Regions from separate parts of the Homo sapiens genome. Here all the other regions are linked to region 1. Evidence: promoter capture Hi-C in 16 types of primary human blood cells and fetal thymus (Javierre and others, 2016). All regions are on one chromosome and are shown on one strand. Each heading gives the region's core, a stretch centred on a gene start or on the middle of the fragment in contact. The rest is flanking DNA. Distances are from core to core; before and after follow the strand shown.

Region 1 (3,489 bases), core at 324-2,823:
ACACACGCACAAAAGGAAGAAAAGAAAAACACACACTTACATTTTTGCATGCAATTTCAGAGGATTGGTGTATCAATCTAAAGACCATCCAGGAACTCCCTTAGCTGAGCATCTCTTATCCAGTCTACAACTTCCATTTTATAATTGTTGAAAATCATTGCTAGAAGAATAGTTGGAAAATTGTGTCACCTAAGCCAAAGCTGGCTCACTTCTTGTTTTTATACAGCCTGTGAGCTACGAATGGTTTTTATAGTTTTAAATGGTTATGTAAGTACCAATATATTAGCCTCAGTTCTACCTCTTGGCTTGCAAAGCCTAAAATATTTACTATCAAGGCTTTTGTAGAAAAAGTTTGCCAACCCCTGGTCTGGAATCCTTAGACAATATTCCCCCAAATTATGCAGCCAATTACTAGAAAACAGAGGACTAGAATTCACACCACCTGATTCCTCATCCATTGGTCTTCCCATTACTTCTATTGACTGATTAAAATCCTAATTAACTGATTTAAACCCAATAAAACAGAAAACAAAGACATGTAATTCTGGAGTACTTAATAAGTAATTTCTCAGATAAGTAATTGTGCAGTTATGTAGAACGCTGAAGTCCAGAGAATTAAGTGACCTATCAAAAGTCATATAACAAATTTGTAAAAGAAACAAAATTAAATGCCTATATTCAGGTTAGGCATTACTGACTTATTGTTTAAAAACTTTGCATTATATTTCATTCCACATATTTGAAAAATATTACTTCTTGGAAGTAGAAAATACTGGTATAGAAAGTATTTTACTTAAAGTAAAATTATTTGAACAGATGTTGTTCTTTTTATTTATCTTATTTAAGAAGTTATTTTCAGATCCTTCCTGTTAAGTAGTACTTTAAAAGTGGGATGGAAAGAATTATAATTACCATTATTTCACATGTTATTTTGAATATACTTCTTTTAGAAATTTCTAAGTACTTGATTGCTTACAGATTGTTTCCTTCTATTGACTAGGGCTGCCTGAATAGTTTCAAACTCTATCTGAAAATAATGCAGTAATAGAGTTAAAGGATTTTCATAACAAAAGGAAATTAAGACATCACTTAAAAGATAAGCATTTGAATAATTATACACAAATTCAATAGTGCCAACTGCTCTAAAAAATTCTATGATATGTTTAGCTGGTTTTTTGACAGAGAGATTCTGAAATCATTTTTGTTCACATTTACCCATAAATATTAGGTTTTACTTTCAGAGCAGCATATCCTAAGCAGTAAGAATAGAACAATTCTTTCTATAAAGGAGGAGTTGTGGTCAGAGAATAAGCTTGCTTTTTAGAGCAGAACCATTTGAAGATTCTGAATTAGGACTATGCCAACAAATTAAGTGTGCTTTATTTCTATAGCACTTTCATTCATGTCTCCCCAAACCTAAGTCATCTGCACTTACCTTGAAAATCCAGATTTCTCAGTGATGGCTACAGAGATGGGCCACATGTCTGCCTTCCAAATAGGATTCTGTTTCAACAGCAGGGCAGCTGGGTCATTTCCATGCTCTGCATGCATTTGCAAAGGCTCTGGACAGCTCACCAAGCAAAAGGAAGTGAATGTGTTCTAAGTTCCTCAGAATGTCAACAGACCATAAAACCTCAAAACCATTTGAAACACAATAGTCTTGAAAAACCAAGCTCTTAAACATGAGTAGTCCAGGTTGCAAACTACAGAGAGGCCAATTGTCAAGAAATATTTATGAAGGATTGATGACTACGATGAATCAAGTTTTTAAAATGTTCTTCAAACTAAATTTTGTAGAGAATGGGGAACAAAGTGGTATTATCAAAAACAAAAAGGGAAGGTAAACTGTGTATTGTTCTTCTGGTGAAGGAATATGTGTAATATTTCCTTTCAGTAAGGAGAAAATTTCCAGAGTTGCTCTATACCTCACTGGTAACTTAGGGCTCCCACTTTTATAATTGTGTTAATTAGCTGTCACTGATAAATGGCATTGACTGGGATATGGCACTATAATTATGTCATTTAATTAGAATTAAGAGAGAAAATATTTAAAATCAGAGTGTGCTATAGGGGCAGGGGAGGGGAGTAAATCGTCACAGCTTAACTTTTTAGACTGTCAACATTATCTCCAGAAGAAGCTGCCCATACAGTCATAGAGATGCACTGCAAGTATTGAGAAAAAAAAACATCAGTTCCTCAAACTGCTTGAACTTTCCTACCATTTGATGACCACTCTATAAATTAGGATTTTATAAACTTTCTAATTATGTAAATCGGTGGTCCCCAACCTTTTTTGGCACCAGGGAAAGGTTTCATGGAAGACAATTTTTCCACAGACAGGGGTGGGGATGTTTTCTGGATGATTCAAGCACATTACATTTATTGCGCACTTTATTTCAATTGTTATTACATGATAATATATAATGAAATAATTATACAACTCATCATAATGTAGAATCAGTGGAAGCCCTGAGGTTGTTTTTCTGCAACTAGATGGTCCCATTTGGGGGTGATGGAAGACAATGATAGATCATCAGACATTAGATTCTCATAAGGAACACTGCAACCTAGATCCCTAGCATGGACAATTCAACAATAAGGTTCATGCTCCCATGAGAATCTAATGCCGCTGCTGATCTAACAGGAGGTGGAGCTCAGGCAGTAATGCAAGTGATGGGGAGCAGCTGTAAATATAGACGAAACTTTGCTGGCCCACTCGTGCACTGCTCCGCTCCTTCTGTACAGCCCAGTTCCTAACAGGCCACGAACCACTGCTGGTCTGTGGCCCAGGGGTTGAGAACTCCTGATGTAGACAGCATGTTAATATTATATAGAAATTGGTCAATTAAAAAGTACTAATTTATTAAATATCAACATTTTCAACATTCCCCTATTTTTAAAATCCATTGTGACATTTCACTATTTCAAAAAGAAATTTTAAAAGGCATCAAAATGATACTGGCCCTGGGTTCTTTCTATTTTAAGGTCCCTAAGTAGAATGATAACTTTGGTAATTTGGGGTGATTCCTGGTATTCTTTACAGTGCTAAAACACTCATTATTTTAGGCGAAATTTTTGCAGTTCTGTTTTCATCAGTATTCACATTTCTTACTCCAAACATAATGTTCTAAGTGCTTCCAACTTTGTTTCTTAGTTTGAAGAGAAGGCCTCTGCATCAGGAAACTCTTCAATTTCAGCAGATGTGCGTTCTTTCTGCCATATGAGTTAAAATGCTATCTGCTTCAAAATAACTCATGCTAGAGATATTTCAAGCTTTATTAGTTGTAGAGAAGATTGTTGCTGACAAACCCTCCTGCTGAGAGCAGCTTACAAAAATGAACAGAATGCAAAACCTATAAGTTTGAAGGCTTCAGAAAGCTGCCCAGGCAATGACACCTTGAAGAAATAAAATCCCCAGAAGACAGGAAGTACAAATCAGTGAATCTGATTTTCAACTCCTGAGTACTTTTTACTCAAGGCACTGCTGAT
Region 2 (3,489 bases), core at 440-2,939, 440 kb after region 1:
TTACTAAGAAGATGTAGTTTGGGACTGCAGAGCAGCTAGCTAATTAGAGGGAATCTATGAAAGACGAGAAGCTCAGAGAGTAGGAGACTCCACATCCACATGTAAACCCTGTCGCAGTCCACTGCTGATCACTGAAGTGCAAATGCACACTTTAATGGTAAAAACAGCAACTTAAAGATCTGAGCAAAGATGTCAGCTGTCACTCACTTCAGAATTTAGATTTTTACTTCCTGCTAGAACAAAAATTATCACTCTTCAGAGGAACAAAACTGATATCTGAATATTGACAGTGTTTTGTTCACAATATCCAGTATATAATAAAAATGTGCTAGGTATGTAAGGAAATAGGAAAAGACGACCTATAGTTAAGAAAAAATGTAGGTAGTAAAAACTGGCCCTGAGATGACCCAGATGTTGGAATTAGCAGATGAAGGTTTTTTAAAAACTTTTATAAATATGTTAAAAACTAAAGAAAAGTATGAGTGTAATGAATGCACAGATGGGGAGTCTTAATAGAGAAATTGAAACCATAAAAATAACCAGATGTCAGTTATAAAATTGAAAAGCACAATAAAGTGAAAATTTTACTGTATGAGGTTGAAGATGTCAGAAGAAGAGATAGTAGCCTTGAAGATGTATCAGTGTAAGTTACCTAATCTGAAAAGTTGATAAAATGAATAATGAGTACTTGACCTGTGAGATAATAAGTTATCTGAAATACATTTAATTGGAGTCCCAAAAGGAGAGGAAAAAGAATGGGGAAGGCAAATATTTGAGGAAATAATTACAGAAGAAAATAATGATGGAGATATATGAAGCAAGTTCTTCACACTGGAGAGACATGATAGTAGATAGATACTCAGATCTGTAGGAAAATATGAAGAACAACAGAAACTAAATATGTGGGTAATATAAAAAGACAAAATGTAGTTTTACTTTCCTTTAAATTTCTTTAAAAGGCTGTAACTATATAAAGCAAAAATTATAATACTGTTTGGTAGGGTTTATGACATATGTTGATGCAATATGTATGACAATGAGAGCACAAAGGATGGAGGTATAAGAGCAACTACACTACAGCAAGCTTCCTAGTGTATAATCTTCCGTTTAAGTAGACATTAATATACTAATGGTGCACATTGTAATACACAGAGTCACAACTAAAAACAGTGCAAGGAAGCATAGGCCAAAACACAAAGGAGGGATTAAATCAGACTACTAAAAAAATTTGATTAATTCAAAAGAAGGTAAGGAAAGAGAAGTAGAATAAAATATAGTTAAGACAAACAGAAAACAAGTTGGTTGACTTCAATCTAATCATATCAATACATTAAATGTAAATAGACTAAGCAGCTCAATGAAAAGGTTTAGATTGTCAGATGAAATTTTTTAAAAAGCATGGCCCAGCTCTATGCTGTTTATAAGAGATGTACTATAAAGACAAGGGCACATGTACGTTGAAAATAAAAGGATGGAAAAACATATACCATGCAAATGCTAATAATAATAAAACTGAATGGTTTTATTATCAGGAAAGATAAGACTTGAAAGCAATATGTTATCAGAGTTAAAGAGGGATAATTAGTAATAAAAATGGTCGCCTCATTAAGAAGATTTAATCCTCCTTTTTATTTTAAATGTGTATGCACCTAAAAATTTTAAATGTGTATGCACATTTAAAATTATTATACATGTGTATAATAAAGTTTTAAAATACGTGAAGCAAACACTGACTACTAAGGAGAAAAAGAGGCAAACCCATCAGCATAGTTGATGATTTTAAGACCAGTCTTTCCTAACTGGTATGAAAACTAGGCAAAATGTTAAGGATATAGATGATTTGATCAACACTATCAAAGGTCTTGCCTTAATTGTCATTTATAAAGCATCAGACTCAATAACAGCAAAATATACATTATTTTCAAATGCACATGGAATGTTCATCAAAATAGTCCATAGTAAGGCTCAAGAATTTTCAAATGATTAAAATTACACAGATTATGTTCTTTGATCACAAGGAAATTAAATTAGAAGTCGGTAACAATAAAATAGCCGAATAGCCTCGGATGTTTGGAAATTAGAAAACACTCTTTCATACTATCAAAGAGTCAAGGAATAACTCAGTTGAAATTATGAAATATTTTAACTGAATGGTAATGAAAATACAACATACCCAAATTTGTGAATGCAGCTGAAGCTGTGCTTAGGGGGAAATTTGTAGCATTAAATATCTATGTTGAAAAGGAAGGATGGTTTAAAAAAAAATGGTCTAAGTTTTTACTTAAGAAGCTTTAAAAAATGTGAATTAAGTAGAAAAAAAGAATAATAAGAATACTAACCAATGAAATAGGAAACAGGCAAATAATACAGAAAATTAAAGCCAAATATTTATTAGGAAAAAAAAGAAAAGAGAAATCCAAATATCAACACCAGGGATAAAAGAGGGAATATCACTACAAATCATACTGACATTAGAAATAAAATAAAAGAATATTGCAAATAATTTTACATTAATAAATTTAATGTTTTAGCACTTGGGGAGGCCAAGGCAGGTGGATCACTTGAGCCCAGCAGTTCAAGACCAGCCTGGGTAACATGGCAAAAACCTATCTCTACAACAAAATTCAAAAATTAGCTGGGTGTGACGCCTTGTGGCTGTAGTCCCAGCTACTTGGTAGGCTGAGTTAGGGGATTGCTTGAGCTAGGGAGGTGGAGGTTGCAGTGAGCCAAGATCATGCCACTGCACTTCAGCCTGGGCAACAGAGTGAGACTCTGTCTCAAAAAAAAAAAAGAAAAAAAAAAAGAAAGAAAATTAAGGATGAAATAGACAAATGCCATGGAAAACAGATTTACCAAATGTGTTAGTCATGGAAATGCATGGCTTTGATCTCCTTTCAGGAAGAACTTGCTAGTCAGCCAAGAAGAGTGCAGTTACCTGATAGTTTTCAGTTATCACATGTTCCAGATTCATAGCAGCTTTCAGTACTCTCCAAAGGCAGCATTTAGTTATTGAACATGGTGGGGATACCAGAGCCTGGTCATTTCTACCCATTATGGGATTCCTCTAAGAGGCACTGTTTATTCTGCAGCGTTCCACTGAGTTGGCTGAGACATTTTCAGATCTGCATTTGCTTCTTCCCCTTCCCTTCGCAGGCATCAGATCTGTTTCATGGTCCCAAGGCTTTCCATACTCAATCCTGCTTTCTGCCTGCTTTATCTTCCACAGGCATTGCCCAAACTCGTACTCAATCTCTGTTCTCATAACTTAGTCTCAGCATCTGCTTCACAGAGGACTAAAACTGACACATCAAAACTGACTCATGATGAAATAGAAAATTTGGACGCCCATAGTTATTAAAAAAATTGAAATTGGCTGGGCGCGGTGGCTCACGCCTGTAATCCCAGCACTTTGGGAGGCCAAGGCAGGTGGATCACGAGGTCAGGAATTCAAGACCAGCCTGGCCAAGATGGTGAAACCCTGTCTCTACT
Region 3 (3,489 bases), core at 586-3,085, 330 kb after region 1:
ACAAACATGCTGTATTAGGGCCCGGCCTGAAGACCTAATTTTAACTTACTTCTTTCGAGGTCCTGTCTCCAAATACAGCTACATTCTGAGCTACTGGGGGTTAGGATTTGAACATACAAATTTTGAGGGGGACACAATTCACCTGTAACAGTTCTCATACTAAAGAGGCCTCTATCAACCTGAGAGGATTTAAGGATTTGAAGGAAGTCATTTAAACTAGTTAAGATTTAGTATCTTCATTAATTTACTGCAAATAATAACACCTGTCACTCAGGGCTGTGAAGAAGAGTGAGTAAAGTGCGTGTCCACGGTGCCCAGCCCCATGCCTGCTCTAGGCGCCTGTCTGCCACTCCTTCTGGCAGCTGTCCCCTAGCCTTCATGATGTCAATGCCAGACACTGGGAAAGCAAAGACTTTTCTCTGCAAGTTTCCATTATATTGCAAGCCAACCGTAGCTAATAGCACATTTCCCCACCTGTCAAGTAAATGGGCTGAATTGTTGCTGAGATTAGCATACATGGCTAGCGTGTACAGAAAATGAAATACTGAGCCTCCACACTGGATTCCATTCTCTGTTTATTCTCTTTCTGCTGAGTGCTTGCATGTTCTGTTCTGAACACACCGTGTTCCCTCATTTCTGAAGCCACAAACTTCCTCTTAGGCCCCGGGCTGTCTTCAGAATGGCCATCAGGTCCCTGATACGGGAACCTGAAATGACACCCCCACCATATACCCATCCATCCAGACCCTCCAGTGTAGGGCAGGTGGGGGGACATGTGCCCACCACTGCTGCTCCCATGGGAAACAAAGACTGGCTTCAGCAAACCTGGACACTCATACATCCTGAATAATGTCAGCTGACCACACCACCGACTTCATGTATTCCTTGACCTAGACACTAAAGGTATTGAGACAATTTCAGTCTGTTTGGCATAAGAAGGATGGTAGCACAAAGAAGAGAAGAGCAAAACTTTTACCCAAAGCCTATTTCGGTGGCCCCTTCTGAGGTTCAGTGTACCATGCAGGGCGGTGTTCTCAAAAGTGAAGACTAGGCCAGGTGTGGTGGCTCACGCCTATAATCCCAGCACTTGGGGAGGCCGAGGTGGGCAGATCACCTGAGGTCAGGAGTTCGAGACCAGCCTGGCCAACATGGTGAAACCCCATCTCTACTAAAAATACAAAAATTAGCCACGCAAGGTGGTGCCTGCTTGTAATCCCAACTACTCGGGAGGCTGAGGCAGGAGAATCACTTGAACCCGGGGGGCGGAGGTTACAGTGAGCTGAGATTGTGCCACTGCACTCCAGCCTGGGTGACAGAGTGAGACTTCATCTCAAAAAAAGAAAAAGAAAAAAAAAGTGAAGACTAGAGGGCTCCAGGAAGACAGCAGTGCCAAGAGGGAAGGGCTGCTTTCAGTGGGTGATCCTCCTGAAGCCCTTTCCCTTTCTGCCTAACCTAATGCAAGGGGAAAATGTGGTCTATGTCTTTTTCTATCAGAGACAACTCAACATTAAAAATATGAGATGAACAGCTCCCTTTCCACTATCCCCATCATCATTATAAACCCATTATCCATCATCAGTAGATAATGACTTAGCGGGACAGAGGACAGCTTTTCTGGTGAGGAAGGAAGGGGCTGAGGAGTGGAAGCAGATCGTTTCTCCAGCTGTTTGGTGTTTCTCTCCCATTGATCTGCCCTGGCCTCCACTGGCCCATCTGTTGGGCTTGTGAGTGCAGTAGGGGAGGGGACACACGGTTCACCAGGGCAAGTGTGTTCGTTTCCCCAACACACAGCTTCTACAGGAATGGCCATACAGGCTTAATTTTTTTCTCAGTAGGGTTTACTGTGCAACAGAAAGACTACAAAGAGCATTAAAAGGTTCAAAGCCATTGCAGTCACCCAAAACTAAAAAACTATATGGGAAATTCAGAAAAAACAACAAAAAGTGATCAGGTATTTGGGACCTTTGTGGAACCGAAAGAATTAATTAAGCTGTATGGAAAAACCTGTAGAGATGTAACAGATCTTTAAGAGACTACAGCAAGAGGCATGTTGAACTTGGGGCATAGAACAATGTGTAGAGAGATGAGTTTCTAGGTGGGAGTCAAAGCGATTTCTGTCTGTCGTCTTCAAAATGCCACCCAACCTACGGAGACATTTAGTGGAAGAGTGGGCTTGTTCACGGGTTATAGAGTCAGATGTTACTGCTATACAGACTTCAGTACCTAACTCTAGAAGAAGTGATTCCTCTTTATTTAATCCACTCAACTATAAACACACCACTTAACATGCATATCGAGGTGATAGAATCTTAATATTAAACATGGAACAATTCCCATATTTTTGGAATGGAATAAAGTCAAGCCAGCAGGCAAGCAGGAACGGTATAGCATTCTCTGCCCATTCTTTACCCACCACCTGGGATTTGATAGTGACTTTGGAAGGCATGATGATTAGAATGTCTAGCCACCTGCCTAGACTTCCCTTTTGTTTCTCCCTTTAATGGTTCTTAAATTTTAGTTTGTATAAGAATTATTGTACCCGGCTGTCTACACAACTTCTTGTAGCTGGTATTTTACTGGGCAATTTAAGTAATACTAGGTTATCTACTTTGGTAATTTTGATAACACTAGGCTCAGTACTGCTGGTAGCTCTAATGAGATGTTCATTGAGGAGGGGATGCATTCATACAACAGCTATGTATTAAAATGCCTGCCTGCCGCGGCCCTGAGTCTGTAACTGTGAATGCGATGTGGACCTTGCCCTTAGAGTACTCCAGATGTAGTGGGGAGAAGTTGACAAAGGGAGTCTAGTAACCCCAGAGTTATGCTGGGGGAAGCATAGGACACCAGGATGCTGACTTTGTTGGCTGAAGATTTTAGAATGTATTTCCTTCTCAGTTATGCCTCACCAAGAGGAGTTGGGCTTGTGTGCTGATCTTTCCTGGAGAGCCTGATGAGACCATGTGCCTTGTGTCCAGTTCAAGGATGGGATAGGTTGCCCTGATCATCGGTAATCTGCCTAGAGGATTTGCTAGCTTACCGCCTGTATTAGTCCGTTTGCATGCTGCTAATAAAGACATACGGGAGATTGGGTAATTTATAAAGGAAAAAAAGGGTTTACATGGACTCAGTTTCATGTGGATGGGAGGCCTCACCATCATGGCAGAAGGCTCTTACATGGCGGCAGACAGGAGAGAATGAGAACCAAGTGAGAGGGTGTTCCCCTTATAAAGCCATCAGATCTCTTGAGGCTTATTCATTATAAGAATAAGAATAAGAATAAGAATACCATAAGAATAGTACCGTAAGAATAGTATGGGGGAAAACTTCCCCTGTAATTCAGTTATCTCCCACCGGGTCCCTTCTACAACATGTGAAAATTTGTCGAGACTGAGGGGAAGGGACTGTTGACCTCTAGAGGGTGGAGGCCAGGTATGCTGCCAGTCATCCTGCAATGCTCGGGGCAGCTCCTACAGCAAAGAAGTATGG

The links. Contacts are between HindIII fragments. The CHiCAGO score rates a contact against its expected background, and 5 or more counts as called.
Region 2: a fragment that was not itself captured here is called in contact with the fragment with the promoter of GPR141 in region 1 in 1 of 17 cell types (megakaryocytes); the score reaches 5.9 in megakaryocytes.
Region 3: a fragment that was not itself captured here is called in contact with the fragment with the promoter of GPR141 in region 1 in 1 of 17 cell types (neutrophils); the score reaches 5.9 in neutrophils.

The regions. Positions count from the first base shown.
Region 1 is chr7:37,681,850-37,685,338 of GRCh38, reverse strand. GPR141 (G protein-coupled receptor 141) reads right to left here and starts at 1,573. Exons shown (of 3, transcript NM_001381946.1): 1 at 1,436-1,573. The HindIII fragment of the contact is 1,961 bases long and covers 1,315-3,275 here.
Region 2 is chr7:37,239,347-37,242,835 of GRCh38, reverse strand. All of the region lies in intron 7 of ELMO1 (engulfment and cell motility 1), which reads left to right. Among named protein-coding and RNA genes, the nearest start is that of ELMO1, 210 kb to the left of the region's middle. The HindIII fragment of the contact is 1,205 bases long and covers 1,087-2,291 here.
Region 3 is chr7:37,347,315-37,350,803 of GRCh38, reverse strand. All of the region lies in intron 1 of ELMO1 (engulfment and cell motility 1), which reads left to right. Among named protein-coding and RNA genes, the nearest start is that of ELMO1, 100 kb to the left of the region's middle. The HindIII fragment of the contact is 4,249 bases long and covers 1-3,489 here.